Regions from separate parts of the Homo sapiens genome. Here all the other regions are linked to region 1. The links are contacts of gene promoters, found by promoter capture Hi-C in blood cells and fetal thymus (Javierre and others, 2016). All regions are on one chromosome and are shown on one strand. Each heading gives the region's core, a stretch centred on a gene start or on the middle of the fragment in contact. The rest is flanking DNA. Distances are from core to core; before and after follow the strand shown.

Evidence for each region. The method cuts DNA at HindIII sites, captures the fragments that hold promoters and counts their contacts. A CHiCAGO score of 5 or more calls a contact.
Region 2: the fragment with the promoter of NTSR1-AS1 here is called in contact with a fragment that was not itself captured in region 1 in 2 of 17 cell types (M1 macrophages and M0 macrophages); the score reaches 6.2 in M1 macrophages.
Region 3: the fragment with the promoter of NTSR1 here is called in contact with a fragment that was not itself captured in region 1 in 1 of 17 cell types (M1 macrophages); the score reaches 7.0 in M1 macrophages.

What each region holds. Positions count from the first base shown.
Region 1 is chr20:62,415,655-62,420,816 of GRCh38, forward strand. It overlaps RBBP8NL (RBBP8 N-terminal like), which reads right to left. Exons shown (of 14, transcript NM_080833.3): 2 at 3,933-4,076; 3 at 2,769-2,811; 4 at 1,570-1,665; 5 at 1,106-1,218; 6 at 510-582; 7 at 134-291; 8 at 1-6. The coding sequence starts at 3,993. Among named protein-coding and RNA genes, the nearest start is that of RBBP8NL, 9.3 kb to the right of the region's middle. The HindIII fragment of the contact is 375 bases long and covers 2,796-3,170 here.
Region 2 is chr20:62,733,135-62,738,296 of GRCh38, forward strand. It overlaps NTSR1-AS1 (NTSR1 antisense RNA 1), which reads right to left and starts at 2,225. Exons shown (of 2, transcript NR_199009.1): 1 at 2,092-2,225; 2 at 1-48. The region is part of intron 1 of NTSR1 (neurotensin receptor 1); the gene reads left to right. RefSeq lists an enhancer at 1,649-2,494. The HindIII fragment of the contact is 3,056 bases long and covers 226-3,281 here.
Region 3 is chr20:62,706,188-62,711,349 of GRCh38, forward strand. It overlaps NTSR1 (neurotensin receptor 1), which reads left to right and starts at 2,649. Exons shown (of 4, transcript NM_002531.3): 1 at 2,649-3,734. The coding sequence starts at 3,021. RefSeq lists enhancers at 1,613-2,126, 2,127-2,639, 2,849-3,395, 3,396-3,940. The HindIII fragment of the contact is 3,349 bases long and covers 1,468-4,816 here.

The DNA of each region.
Region 1 (5,162 bases), core at 1,733-4,232:
GCTTTTCTGTGGGAGGAGAAGCCAGGGGCAAGAGCTTGGGAGGTGCTCAGAGGGGCAGCGGCCCAGCCCCAGGGGGAGGATCCCTGGTCCTGCGGGGGCCCAGCCTCCCAGCCTCACCCGGTCCCCACAGCACCTTCTCCCCGTAGGCCCACGCCCTGGTGGTCTTCCTCAGCCTCCTCGTGGCCTCCCGGTGGCTTCTCTGTGATGGCCTTCCAGCCACCAGGGGAGGGGAGCAGCAGGGGTGAGGGGGGGTCCGAGGTGCCCTCCTTGGCCCGGGGCTTGGGCCTGTCTCTAGAGGGGAGGCAGAGACAGGGAGGGTGAGGGAGAGCAGCATCTCGGGAGATGATCAGAAAAGCCGGGCCCACTCCTGGGTGACCCCAGGTGACGCAGCTGTCCCGACACTGCCTGAGAGTCCTCCATGGGCGGTTCCCCCAGGGACGTGTGCTGGGTGCTGCTCGGGGGGTGCTGGGGAGTTGGGTGTCTGAGCCCTGGGACCCTTTCCCACTCACCCCAGGCCCCGAAGCCGCTTCACCTCCTCCTTCAAGGTCTCGTTCTCTTCCTTCAGCCCGTTCATCTCGTTGGCTGCAAAAGGCACTGATGAGCAAAGCAGCCAGGGGTTGGGGGGGACAGGGGCAGGGGTGGGGTCGTCACAGCACCAGGGAAGCCCCTCAGCAGTGCCCCCAGCACGTAGCCCAGGGCCTGGCAGGCAGCAGGGGCGCCGTGGATGCTGGCTGCGTGCATGGCTGATTGGATGCTGTTGAATGAGCAGTGCCGGCCTCGAGGGAAGGGGGCTTGCCCTTGGTCATCAGGAGGGCCACTGGGGCCTCAGCACTGCAGGACCTTCCGCATCTCAGGAAGGAGGCCGCGCCCAGTGGGGGCCGGGATGCCCCCAGCCCAGGGGAGGGAGGCTGTGTTGAGGGAGGGCCACACCAGCGCCGGCTGGGGGCTTTGTGTGTTTGTCTGTAGATTGGGTTGTGAGGTTCCCCCAGTGGTGTGGGGCCGATCGTCCTGCCTCCTTTCCCCATGCCCCTACATGGGCTGAACAGGCCTGGGGTCGCCTGGCCCCGTGGGAGAGGACCCCGGTTGTCTGGTGGGTGGGGCTCACTGAGGATGAAGATGCGCTGCAGGTTCTGCAGGTGGGAGCTCTCGAACTCCTGCTGCCGCTTCCTGGCCAGCTCCTGGGTGACCATGCAGCGGTCGCACAGGCCGGCCCGCAGCCTGCAGGGATGGGGACGCAGGGGGTGTGAGGGATGGCACGGAAGCCACAGAGGGCCTGGGACACTCACTGCCCCACTGCTGGGAAGTGCCCCTGCCCTTTGCAAACTATTCCGTAGAGCCCCAGGCCTCTTCCCACCCCGTGGGCTAGGTGTCCCATGTTCCACTGAGTTTGGGGAGAAATCTTGAAAATGCAATTTCCTTAAGGCTCTGAGATGTCCTGCAGTGGGGAAACCTTCCTGGTTCAGTTTATCCTGGAGTTTCCCAAACTCATTCTCCGAGGAGCCCTGTCACCTCCTCCTCTCCTGAGCCCACCGGTCCTGGCCATGCTGCGAGGTGTCCTCCCAGGCCCACCTGTTCTCCAGCACCCGCAGGTTCTCCTTCAGTGTCTTCTGCTGTTCCCGGAGCTGGTGGTTCTTGGAGAAGAGCTCCTCGATCCTCTGGGCGTCCCTGTGGTGGGAAACAGCTAAAGTGGGGTCCTGTTCCATCCAGGAAGCCACACGCTGTCCCCACCATCCAGCCTGGGGGGGCAGCGCGATTCGGCACCTGCAGCCTTGGTCTGGGGGCAACGCCTAACCCGGTGCCCCCCTCCCAGTCATCTGCACGCTCCTCTGTGACGTCTGTCCCGTCCACGCAGCCCCCCCAGTCATCTGCACGCTCCTCTGTGACGTCTGTCCCGTCCACGCAACGCCCCCCCAGTCATCTGCACGCTCCTCTGTGACGTCTGTTCCGTCCACGCACCACCCCCCCCAGTCATCTGCACGCTCCTCTGTGACGTCTGTCCCGTCCACGCACCCCCCCCAGTCATCTGCACGCTCCTCTGTGATGTCTGTCCTGTCCACGCAACGCCCCCCCAGTCATCTGCACGCTCCTCTGTGACGTCTGTCCTGTCCACACACCACCCCCCCGGTCATCTGCACGCTCCTCTGTGACGTCTGTCCTGTCCACGCAACGCCCCCCCAGTCATCTGCACGCTCCTCTGTCACGTCTGTCCTGTCCACGCAACGCCCCCCCAGTCATCTGCACGCTCCTCTGTGACGTCTGTCCTGTCCACGCAACGCCCCCCCAGTCATCTGCACGCTCCTCTGTGACGTCTGTCCTGTCCACACACCGCCCCCCCTGTCATCTGCACGCTCCTCTGTGACGTCTGTCCTGTCCACGCACCACTTTAGTGCCACAGCACAGGCAGGACCATAGCCGGGTCTATAAGCCAGAACGCAGGGAGCCTGCCCGCCCGCCAGTGTCTGACCAGACATGACCCCAGCTCACCGTGAACGTATTGTTGATATTCTGATCATGATCCTGGGGTGGGAGAAGCCCCGAGTAGGGGGCTTGCCCCGCCCCTGGGAGGCCGACGCAACTGGGTTCAAGTGCTGGCTTCGCTGCCTGCTCACCGTGTGACCTTGGACAAGTGACTCCCCCCGCCCCCACACTGAGCCTCAGTTTCCCTTCTGCACCATAGGACGGTGGTAGTGCTGGCACACTGGGGCTTCAGGGGGATGAAGTGGCCAGTGTGGTCCCTGTGAGGAGGGGCCCTGCTTGGCCTGACTCACCGGCACCTCTCTGAGTTCAGTTCCAGAAGCTTGTTCTGCAGGCCTGGGGGAGCAAGCAGAGGGGCGGGGGGTCAGGCCCAGCTGCTGCTTCACCTTCAGTGTCCCCACCACGGGGTCTGGGCAGAGCTGCAATGTGGCACTCCTGTCCCCTGCACCCCCTGGGGGAGCCCTGCCAGGTGAGCCCCTGTCTGTGCCCAGGCACGGGGCTGCCTGAGGCTCGGTGGTCTCGGCCTAGCATCTGTTGCTTCCCCTGGGGTCTCTGCCTCCGGCATCTGTCTGGGGGTGTCTGGGGGTGAGCAGGGACCCTGGTGCCACAAGTGACCAGCCACCTGTGAAAGGTAGAGGGACCGAGGGGCCATTTTGTGTGTGTGTGTGTGTCATAGCTAGTGTTGAAATAAGATAAGCTTCTGGGGCGGACCCCACCAGACCCTCTCCTTGCCGTATCTTGGGGATCCAACCTGGGCCTGGCTAGCCCCAGCAGCCCCACCTCTCTGGGTTGCCTAGGAGGCAGCCGGGTCCTTGGACCTCCAGGTGGGTGTGGGTGCTCAGTGGAAAGACCACGGGGAGGTGCTGGCCCTGGGACTGGACTGGGGGTGGTGTGGGGGCTGCGGCCCTGTCCCTCGTGGGGGAAGTGGACAGGGGTGGGGCCTGGGGCGTGTCCTAGAAGGAAGAGAAGAGTTGCAGCTCAGTGCCTTGACATGTTCTGGATGGGTCCAGAGAGCCATAAGCTCCTGTTTCTGGAAGTGGCTGTCTCTGCCCTGGTGAGCTCAGCAGGCCGGCCAGGGTGGGTACTTCTTTCTGCCACGCTGGAGGCCGGCCCACGGGAGAACAAAGCATGGGCAGCATGGGGCCTGCGGGTGGCAGGTGGCCATGAGGTGTTGGTGGCAACCCTTGAAAGTGCCCCTCCCCCTCGGGGTCACACTCTGGGAGTGGCTCGAGGACATCCCCGCTTGAGGTCAGCACTCGGGCCCAGGCAGGGTGTCTGCCACGTTGTAGCTCTGGGCCTTGGGTCAGGACTCCCCTGCCTGGGCCAAAAAGACGGGGTCCATTCCCTGACTTGGTGGGAATTGGAGGTGATCATGGGTGCACAGTGGCCTGCTCCGACCCTTAGGTGAGGGCTGTGGAGACCCCTCCCTAGCCTGGCATCTGTCCCTGGCCCCTCACCCAGGACTTCCTTCTCGTGGATCTCCTTCAGCCTGTTCAGCGACTCCATGAAGCTCTCCATGGCTCCCTGTGGCCCTGGCCCGGGCCCCTCTGCGCTGGGGTTGTGGAGACGCCTGCAGCCTCTACTGCCCCTCTGTGTCCATCCTGAAGAGGAGGAAGAGGGGACAGGGATCCGCTCAGGAAGGGCTTGTGGGCTGTGGAGTCCAGGAGAGGATTGGGGCTCCTTGTGTCTGTATGGAGCAGACCCCATGCCATGCTGTAGGGGCTACTCATGGGAGGTGGCCTGGAGGCTCCCGAACCCCACGGGCAGGCACAGAGATAGTACATTGTGTGGCTTCCTCCCACACGTATGTGGCCGGGGGCCAGAGGGCAGGGTGCTGGCTGCCGTGCGGGAGGGGCTGGAGGGGCCAGGGAGCATCTGGGGTGAGTGCCGGCACCTCTGAGCCACCCCGTTCTCCCCAGGTATCCAGCCCATCAGTGCCTGGCCTGTCCCCACATAAGCCCTTCCCCTGGCACCTCAATGGAGGGACAGGGAAGCCTGGCAAGAGCTGGATGGTGCTGGTGGCACCTGCCCAGCTGTGAAGCTGGGAGTCAGACCTCACCAGTAAGAGCCCCACAGACCCTACCATGCCACTGTCCACACCCCGGCCCCAACACCACTGTCACAGCACCTCCTTCCCTCTCACCAGAGCCCTGTACTCAGTTCCCTCCTGGGATCTCTGTCCCCCTCCAATGCCGTGGCAGCTTCAATCCTGTCCCACAGGCACACACACACACACACACACACACACACACACACACACACACAGATAGCATGTGCACACAACACACATGCACATATATGCAAAAGACACACACAGAGCATGTACACACATAACACACATGCACAAAGACAGACACACCACACAGCATGTATACACACAACACACAGGCACACACCCAGAGTTACACACATACAACACATATGTACACAGACAGGGATGCCCACACACAACACACAGAGACACATAGACATGGGTATACGCAGACACATGCTGACAACAAAGCTGTGCAGACATAGAGACACAGCTACACATGCAGTTGCAGGTACACGGAAACACACACAGCCACAGCAGCCCCCTCTGCCCGGAAGCGGCTCCCACACGCAGATGCTGGAAGGTTCCAGGAAGAGGTAGGAGCCACTCTGAAGAGGTCACAGGCCCCCTCCCTCCCTGCCTGCCTCCCCTACCC
Region 2 (5,162 bases), core at 975-3,474, 320 kb after region 1:
TGAAGTAAATGTCATCGGCAGTGTGTAGACGTTCTTTCGGAAGAAGATCTGTCAGAGAAAATGCAAGCTGATTACCAGCCTAACAGAGAAATGTGCATCCCGGTCCCCGCAGGGCCACCCTGGAGGCACCTCTGCACCTCCCAGGCACAGCTCTGGGAAGGCTGAAAATTAGCACCAATTAGGGAAGAATGAAGCTCTTGGTTCCCTCCTGAAGCACTTGGTTGAAGCTTGCTGCGCTCCTTTCCGGGAGCAAATGAGCATCTCTCGGGACAGTTGTGTTTCCCTTGGGCAGGGAGCCACTGGCAGCTCCCCAGTGGGAATCGTGCCTTCTAGTCCAGATTTCCACTTTGGAAAGGGAAGGTTCTAGAAAGTTCTGGAAAGCTCGGCTGTGGCTGACTCCTGGCTTAGGGCTCAGGCCTGTCTCACCTAGCAATGCAGGGTGAGCCATGTGGGCTGGCTTCTGGGGATGGGGAGGAGAGATACACACATGGAGAAAAAGAGGGAGATAGAGAAGAGAGAGGGAGAGAGAAAAGGAAAGAGAGGAGAGAGGGAAAGGCAGAGAGAGAAACAGAGGGAGAAACACAAAGAGAGGGAGAGAAGGAGAGAGAGACACAGAGAGAAAGGGAGGAACAGAGGAGAGAGAGGGGAGGAGGGGGAGGGAGACAGCACCCTCTTCTCCCTACCCTTGCCTGGGGTCTCAGCTGAGAGAGGGAAGGCTCTGTGCTGGGGAAGAGGCCTCCAGCAGGGAGTAGTGACTGATGAATGTATGATTGCTACTTTATCTCAATAGAGGATTCGAACAGCCCCCAGGCAGGGTCGCATTTTAAATGATGGTTTTGGGTGCTGAGCCAGCCCAGCTTGGAGGGGGTTTCGTTTCACAGATGAGGAGCCTGAGGCTGGGGGAAGCCACTTGCTCAGATGCACACGGCTGGGGCCGGCGGCAGGTTTGCCCGACCTCGAGTCTGCGCTTCTCATCCTGGAAGCGACCGCCTTGTCCCCTGCGCAGCCTCCTTCTCTGGCTCAGCCACGTGGGTTACTACTGAGTTCACTCTTCAGCCCTGGTGGGGGACGGGCAAGAGATGGGGCGTGAGGGGCGGGCGGAGGCAGCGAGGTCTGGGATGAGAGCTTTTCTGGAGCCTTCTCTGGAGTGTGACCCCCTTCCCCGCAAAAAAAAAAAAAAATCTTGGCTCAGCTCTTGGGCTTCGGTGCAGTAGGGGCTTTGTGGCCGATGCAGAGGAAGCCGAGCTCTGCTCCTGGAAGGACGTGGCCCCTTGTCTTACCCAGGCTTCATTTTGGGGCCATCTTTTTAGGTGGTTGAAAATGAGTAACTCATTCTTGACCTTGTGCAATGCCCACGCCCTGTGTCCGGGGCTGACCTGGAGGCTCTGGGTTCTCTGCTGAGCAGAGCTGGGGCCAAGACCACCCCTGGGGAGCGAGGAGCAGGCGCTGGTGTGCCTGGCCCAGGTGGCTTCCCATAAAAGCTGCAGGCAGCCCTGTCTAATGTGGCAGCCCTGGGCCACACGTGGCCACTGGGCATTGAGACATGGCTGGTCTGAGTGAAGATGAGCTTCAGCCTGAAATCCGCACCGGGTTTTAGAGTTAATGCGGAAAGGCGGTATACAATAGCTCACTAATACCGTTGCAAGTTGATATGATATTTTGAATACATTAAGTTAAATAAGATATCGTATTAAAATTATCATAGCTGTTTCCTTCCACTTTTGTAACATAGCTACTGGTACATTTAAGCCTCACGTGGCCTGCATCCTATTTCCACGGGACTGTGCTGCCCGAGCCCCTCCCTGCTGATGAGAAGCAGCCCTCGGGTGGCTTTGGGGTGTGTCCAGAGCCTGTACAGCCTCCCCTTGGGGTGGGGTGCCGCGTGCGGGGTGCCAGGCACCAGCCGGTGCTGAGGCCCCATGTGGAGGCAGCCCTGCATGATGGGCAGCAACCAGTGGGGTGCCATCGTGTGCGGTGACGTGCACACTAAAGAAAGACGCTCAGCTCCCTCCTCTGCCCCGCCTGGCCGCCAGCTCAGTGCCAAAACCATGGTTAGGGGGTGGGAGGCCACGGGTGCCCTTGGGGACCTACCAGGCCTGCAGGGTCCTTGGCAGAGGGGCAGTGCCTGGCACCAGGAGGACACTGTGCTGGAAGGTCAGCCTGTTCCCACAGCCAGGGATGTGGGGCTCCCAGGTAGCCCCATTCATAGTTATTTGAATTGCTGTGATGGAGGCAGGCGGAAGAGGTGGGACTGCGAGGGAAGGCAGGGGCCCCCCGGGGAGAGAGTGGGTGCCTCCTTCCCTTTCCTCAAAGCCCAACGGCCTTGCAGTGAGACTGCCACTATACAACAAAGAGCCAGCACCGCTGTGCACGCTGGAGTCTCACAGATGAGCCGATTATGTCTTTGTGACAAACACATTATTAGGAGTGAGATGAATTCCTTCTGTGGGCGGGGATGATTCAGAGAGAGGCGTCCCAGCCCCAGGAACAGCCTCCCCGCAAGGTGGCCTCAGCCTCCCCCATGCTCCCCTGGAGGCCGCTCCCTGGCTTGGGGGGTGGGTAACACGGGAGTCCCCCCGACACGGCGAGGTGAGCTCACCTCCTGAGGCTGGCGTGCAGGGAAGTAGGAAAGGGCACACACTGCGACCGGGGACCAGGGACAGGGTCTTCCCCGCTGTGACCTGTGGGGCTGTGCAGGGGGCGGGAGCAGCCCCCATCCCAAAAGGAAATGGGACAGGAGTTGCCAAGAACAGTTCCCCTTACCCTCCAATTCCTCACGGGTTCAGCACTTTCTCTGAGGGGGTCTGGTCTGAATCCCAAATTCAGATTCTGTATTCAACTGTTCCCTTCATTACAAAGAACAAATTTCCGAGCCCAGTAATTCCCGTTTAAATTTGTCAATTTTCATCCCTCGATAGAAATCAGTATGTGGTGATCACAAAAGCCGGGGTATTAGCCCAGTGGACAGTTTGTTCTGAAACTTGTCCCTTCGGGGCAGGGCCTGGGTTAGGAGGCCTGAGATCTGCCTGGAGCCTGGGGTGCCTCGGGCAGGGGCATCGTGGCTGGGGATTCTCTGCACTTGCCCCATGGAGCAGGGCGGGAAGGGAAGCCAGGCTCCTTTCCCTGTCTGGGTCTGGGGCTGCTGCCCTTGGCAGCTGGGGAGACCCTGGGACCCCAGAGGCAGAGCCCCACTCTCTGTACCCTCAGGCGCAATGCCCTGAAAGACAGGCGCCACTTTGTCTTCAGAAAGGCAGGAACCAAACCCCTCTCACAGTTCCAGAAGCTTCCCTGAGTCCCAGTTTAGACGCAGAATCTCCTCTGTGGATCACTCCAACTGGGGAACCAGGAGAGGGGGTTTGGGAGAGGAGGGAAGTGGCTTCCACCTGTGGGTGGGGCAAAGAGAGGGCTCCCAGCTATGCAGGGCGGGCCCAAACCTCCAGCAGAGCCCCTTTCCCAGCGAGGACTCCGAGGACTCCGAGGCCCTGGCCTGTGGCTCCCAGGGAACAACCTGGACCCTCAGCATAGGACCCGCAAGCTGAGACCCTCCTCTGTTTTACTGCTTCATTTTCCATCTGTGACCAGGGCCCAGGCCACATGCACACACCTGGCGTAGGAGTTACTTCGTGATGTGTTTGGCTGTGTCCCCACCCAAAATCTCATGGGAATTGTAATCCCCATAATGCCCCGTGTCAAGGGCAGGACCAGGGGGAGGTGACTGGATCGTGGGGGCGGTTCCCCCAGGCAGTTCTTGTGAGAGTGAATCTCATGAGATCTGATGGTTTTAGAAGCGTCTGGCGTTTGCCCTGCTGTCACTCACACCGTCCTGCTGCCCAGTGAAGAAAGTGCCTGCTTCTCCCTCCACCATGATTGTAGGTCTCCTGAGGCTCCCCCAGCCCTGCAGAACTGTGAGTCAATTCAACCTCTTTCCTTTATAAACTACACAGTCTCGGCAGTTCTTTAGAGCAGTGCGAAAATGGACTCACACACTTGGCCTGGGCCCAGTCTTTCCCGGATGGATGGTGCGATGATCAGCCCCGTGTTCGTGAGGACGGGGCCAACCCAGACCCACCTGGAGTTGTAAAGTTTCATCAGCACTCAGCCCCACCTGCTCATGTACGTACTGCTATGGCTGTGTTGGCCACAGCGGCCACAGTGAGTGGTTCTGCTCAAAAGTTGAGATCCTCCGGCCCACGAAGCCACAGTGACTCACTCTCTGGACCTTCACAGAAAGCATTCACCCACCCCACCCTAGGATGCGTGTCCAGAGGTGAAATGGCTCCCTCCGTGCAGTCGGAGAGCCCCTTGACTCACGGCTGCACCCCTGCTCATCAGGCACAGCGGCAGGCACGTGACCTCTGTGGGGCCACTTGTCCTACTTGCAGGGAGGGGCCGAGCATGGGATGCAGCATCCACGCCTGCACTTAAACGAGCCCTCTGTGGCCTTGCCCCACTCGGCCTGAGGAGAGCCTGGAGAGAGATGCCGTCCCTGCCTGGGCGCTGCGATCCTCCTTCCTTCCCACCTGCTCTCGTCCCCACATCTGCCCATCGCCAGGTCCAGCCCCGGATGCAGGCCACACCTGGGTCCCTCCCTGGCCCCACCCCTGAGAGCAAACCCAGAATGCAGTTGTGGCTGCAGCGGCCTCCTGCTTTACCTCCTGCTGCTGCTTCCCACTTCTGAGCTGCTCCAAGTCCAGGATTGATGACCTGACCCCTGCCCCCGGTCCTCCCCACCCCCCACACCCCTGCACCACCTCACACACTCTTACCTCCTTCCTCCTGGCCCACAGATGCCCTTCAGCCCTGCAGCCTCTGCGTAAAGCTCCCTCCTCTGGAAAATGGCCCCTTATCTCCCCCAGACCACGCTGCATGCCCCCTGGTCCTCCGCAACAGCCGCATCCCTTTCCCTGCAGTGCCCATCTGCCCACGTCTGCCCCCCTCCCCCTCCTCTGCCTATGCCAGGTGCCTTGGATGCATCAGGTGCACCGTCAGGGCTTTTGAAGGCTCCACGAGGCGGGCCTGGGCACGCAGTGCACGCAGAGGGTGATGGAGGGTGCTAGATGGCCGGCCTGGATGAACCCAGGTGCACGCAGAGGGTGACGGAGGGTGCTAGATGGCCGGCCTGGATGAACCCAGGGACAGGGACAGACAAGGCAGGTGCAGCC
Region 3 (5,162 bases), core at 1,399-3,898, 290 kb after region 1:
ATTTTCCTATGTGGTTTTAAGCAAATGCTCCAACACAATATTTGCACTATGTTGCCTTTTATGATTTTGTAAGCTCCCAGGCCAACTCACAGATAAATCTTTGAAAATAAGGGCAGCTTAGCCAAAAGGTCAGGGGTTTAAAAACCAAACAATGAGCTTAGGCAGAGGGAGAGCACAATCGCTGCATCCTCCTGCTTTGGCTGGCAGAGGGACAGACTCCAGTGGCCATTGCTGTGGACTTCCTCTTTGTGGGGGTCTCGACAGAGGCGCCTGATGGCCCAGCCCGTGGTCAGGCCCCAGTGTTACCAAGACAGTGGTGAGCGCCTGGACCTCACACTGTCCAGCACCTGTACTCCCTGGCATGGTGTGGATGCTAAGGTCCCCGCCCAAACCTCTGTACTTGGCCGGGCGCAGTGGCTCACGCCAGCAATCCCAGCACTTTGGGAGGCCAAGGCGGGTGGATCACGAAGTCAGGAGATGGAGACCATCCTGGCTAACATGGTGAAATCCTGTCTCTACTAAAAATACAAAAAAATTAGCGCCTGTAGTCCCAGCTATTCGGGAGGCTGAGGCAGGAAAATGGCGAGAACCTGGGAGGCGGAGCTTGCAGTGAGCCAAGATCGCGCCACTGCCCTCGAGCCTGGGTGACAGAGCGAGACTCCATCTCAACAAATAAAAAAAATAAAAAAATAAAAAAACCTGTGTACTTAACTGGTGAATCGTGTCTTCCAGAGGACAAATCTGGCCTACTCCAGCCTATTCTAGTTGGATGGAACACCTCACCTCACACCCGACAGCCCATTCGACCTCGTTCATTCCCCGTGGAGACCCATCAGTAACAGCCCTGCCCTTCATTCAGCCGCTATTCCCATTTTACAGACGACTCAATCGAGGCACAGAGACGCTAAGCACACTCGCCCAAATGTGAAGTAGCAGGGCCAACATTCAATCCTATCTACTGGCTTCCAGCAAAGGGATCACTGGCGTTTCCTTTGATGCCAAGATTTCTAAGCTCTGATGTTTGTGAGCTGCAGCCCCCTGACAAGAGTATCAGGCTCCGGTTGAACAGAGAAGTCCAAAGCAGGGCGAGAACGGACGAATAATCACAGAGTCCCGCTGCCAGCCACCGGCTCAGAAGCCTTGAATTCTCCTAGCTGGGCGGGCCCGGGAGGGGGTTCCTCAGCCTCCCGCTTCCCTCAACACCCTGCGACCCCCGCCCCAGCCTGCCCAGGTTTCCTGCTCCCAGCACAGCAGGTGCAGCCAGCCATGTGCACAAAGGCCAGGCTGGTTCCCTGGGCTGCACTCGAGCAGCTCCTCCCAGCCCTGCACACATGGGGCAGCAGCTCTACCCAACCTCTCCCAGGGGTTCTGGGGAGGAGGGAGCAGGGGAGGGGGCGGGGAGGGCCCAGAGAAGGGACAGTAGTGCCCTGGGGGCCCCTGGGCAACCCAGACATGGAGGGGGGGGCAAGCTTGTGCCTGGCCACCTATGCCAGTGCCACCAGGTGCTGGGGGGGACACGGAAAGGACAGGAATCTTGCCCTCACCTGGCTCCCGAGCCAGGGGCCGGGGCACCCTGTGAGGACACTCAGAGGGAGGGAGTGTGCAAAGCCTGCAGGGCCTGGGAGGATGCGTGCTGGGGCTGCCTCTCCCAAATCCTGCTGGGGCGCAGGCTCTCAGGGTGGCTTCTGATGACAAATCCAGGCAGTAATAAGGGGCCCAGGGCATCACATCCCATAGCGTCATGAGACCAGCCCAGGGTGCCAGATGCAGGGCCCTGAGTGGGGAGGGTGCTGCTCTGGGCACCTGCTTTCTGCCCTCCCTCATTCACCCCTCCCCAGACTTTGATGAAACCATCTGTGGCTCCCGGCCTCTGCAGGACCCAGCCCCTCAGCTCCTCAGCCCCTGCAGGTGTCCCTCGGTACTGCCTCACGCCATCCTGCCCCAGGTGATAACTATGCCCTGAGCCCCCACCATTTCCACTGGGCACATCCCAGAAATACGCATTCACAGACCAGGCACGCCCATGACTGCGGCCAGATTTTAAAAGGAATCACCAGAAATGTAATCTCCAGTGGTCCTAGAGCCCCCTGGGCACCCAGCTTCTGGCACCCTGTGGACACCCAGGAGTGGGGGTCGGCCCAACCAGCTGCGCAGCCGCCCAGCCCTGCCAGCGGGGAGCTTCCTCCCTCCCTGCCCTCCGGATACACCCTCACCCCAACTGAGCGAGCCCAGGGTTGGGGGAGGTGCATAGTTCCCTTCCTAGCCGGTGCGAGAAATTGCGGAGAACAGGGAAGAGGGTGGCAGGAAGGGTCTGGTGCACGATACCCGCCGCGCCCGCTCGGAATCCTGGTTCCCTGGAGCGCTCACCCCAGCCCGCCCTGCCCCGGGGAGCGCGAGGGGGCGACCCGCCAGGCTGCACCCGGGCGGGGCGGGGATGGCGGCGGGGGCTGCCTCCCTCCTCCGCCGCCACCCCCCACTGCTGGGCGCGCCGCGCGGCCGCCGGCTCCGTGGAGACGCGCAGAGCCGGGAGGGCGCGGGCGCGGCGGGAGGTGTGCGGGGCTGGGGTGCGCGGAGAGCGCGAGGGAGGAGATTCTGAGCGAGGGAGGGGAGCGCGCCCGGGCAGCAGTGCGTGCGCTCCTCCCGGCGCCACAAGCTCGCCCCGCGCAGCCCGAGCCGGGCTGGGCGCTGTCCTCGGGGGCCTGGGGAACCGCGCGGTTTGGAGATCGGAGGCACCTGGAACCCGTGGCAAGCGCCGAGCCGGGAGACAGCCCGAGGAACCACGGGTTCTGGAGCTAGGAGCCGGAAGCTGGGAGTCCGGAGGAGAGCGGAGCCCGGAGCCCGGAGCCCGGGGCGGCGCGTCTGGGTCTGGCGCTTCCCGACTGGACGGCGCGCCCGCTGGTCTTCGCCACGCGCCCTCCCCTGGGCTCCCGTTCATCGGTCCCCGCCTGAGACGCGCCCACTCCTGCCCGGACTTCCAGCCCCGGAGGCGCCGGACAGAGCCGCGGACTCCAGCGCCCACCATGCGCCTCAACAGCTCCGCGCCGGGAACCCCGGGCACGCCGGCCGCCGACCCCTTCCAGCGGGCGCAGGCCGGACTGGAGGAGGCGCTGCTGGCCCCGGGCTTCGGCAACGCTTCGGGCAACGCGTCGGAGCGCGTCCTGGCGGCACCCAGCAGCGAGCTGGACGTGAACACCGACATCTACTCCAAGGTGCTGGTGACCGCCGTGTACCTGGCGCTCTTCGTGGTGGGCACGGTGGGCAACACGGTGACGGCGTTCACGCTGGCGCGGAAGAAGTCGCTGCAGAGCCTGCAGAGCACGGTGCATTACCACCTGGGCAGCCTGGCGCTGTCCGACCTGCTCACCCTGCTGCTGGCCATGCCCGTGGAGCTGTACAACTTCATCTGGGTGCACCACCCCTGGGCCTTCGGCGACGCCGGCTGCCGCGGCTACTACTTCCTGCGCGACGCCTGCACCTACGCCACGGCCCTCAACGTGGCCAGCCTGAGTGTGGAGCGCTACCTGGCCATCTGCCACCCCTTCAAGGCCAAGACCCTCATGTCCCGAAGCCGCACCAAGAAGTTCATCAGCGCCATCTGGCTCGCCTCGGCCCTGCTGGCGGTGCCTATGCTGTTCACCATGGGCGAGCAGAACCGCAGCGCCGACGGCCAGCACGCCGGCGGCCTGGTGTGCACCCCCACCATCCACACTGCCACCGTCAAGGTCGTCATACAGGTGAGCCTCAGTAACCAGCCCCGGGGCTCCCCTCTCCTTCACCCCAAAAGCAGTGCCAGTGGTGTGCCTTCTGGGTAGGGAGTGGGAGAGATGTCACAGAGACAGTCTACTCCTGCGAGGCTGGGAAGGCGGTTGGGGCAGCTTGGGGGCAGCTCCAGAGTTGCCAGGCTCAGCCCCTATCTTCTTCCCTCCTGTTGAGGGGATGGAGCCCCTGCCTGTGACCTCTCTGGTGTTGGTGGCTGGGCCTCGGACATCTCTGAATTCCTTAAGCCTAATGGAAACATGTGCGCTGGCACCTGCGTCTCCAAAGGAAGAGTAACACTTTCATCAGCTTCTCAAAAGACTGTGCCACCAACAGGTGATGTTCCTTCCTCTGCAGAGAAGCCCCCAGACTGGCTCTGCCGGTGCCTCCCAGCTGCCTGCCCTGACCCAAACTTGGGAGTCAGAACAGAACCTGATGCCGTGTTGGGCCAGTTCCTAGTTTAGCCTCAGCTTTCCCATCTGTGTGATGGGGTAGTGATAGCATTGACCTCAGAAGGTAGAGCATTGGAGAGAGGACGCGTGGGAAGTGTTTGCATGGCCCCTGACACATAGAAGGGCTCACAGGCACTATTATTGCGGGATGGTGGGGACGATGTTTCTGCGGGGAAGGTTGTGAGGATCTGCGTGTGGCGGCGGTGTTGTGGTGAGGTGTGTAAAACTGGAGCCGAGTGACTAAGGGCCCTCCAAGGGTCTGAGCAAAGCGCCGTGGGAATGCGGGTGGGAAGCCCCCTTGGGAATCAGTTTGGCTGAGGTTCGTGGCACGGGGGGTTCCAGTGCTGGAGGGGAGGGCTGATCAAACCAAAGCCCCGAGCAGGAGGCTGGTGTCCAGGGAGGAAGTCAGGGCCGGTCGGGAACTTTGAAAGGCATCTTGGAAATGAGCAGCCTTAGAAGTGTGGGGTTTCCTCCATTTCTGGTGGGCTAAGGAAGCCAGAGGGTGAAGGATCCGGGCAGAGTCGCCTACCTCTGCCCAGCTAGAGGGGCCAGGGTGGCTGGCTGTCCCCCCAACTCCCCACACACCAGCATCGCCAGCCTCCCAGCTAAGCTTCTGTAGTTGCCTGGGCACCCCGCGTATGCCAGTATGCCCGGTGGGGGTGAGGGCAGCAGTGCCGGGCAGGGGGTCACCTGTCTGTCACTCCCTGGGCCCTAACTGACCCTCCACTGGCCACCACCCAGGTGGGCTGGGGGGTGGAGGAGGGTAGAACTGAGCTCCCAGTCTCCCTGGCTGCACATAGAACTGGTGGCTACAGGTGTCCCATCTCGGGGAGGCCCCTCCCACAGACACTGGTGGCAGGCAGTGAGTCAGGGCTGCTTTGCTTCTGCGGCGAGAGTCCCTCCCCTCACCAGAGGCAGAAGTAGGCACGGCCTGTGGGGTAAACACAGTGAGAA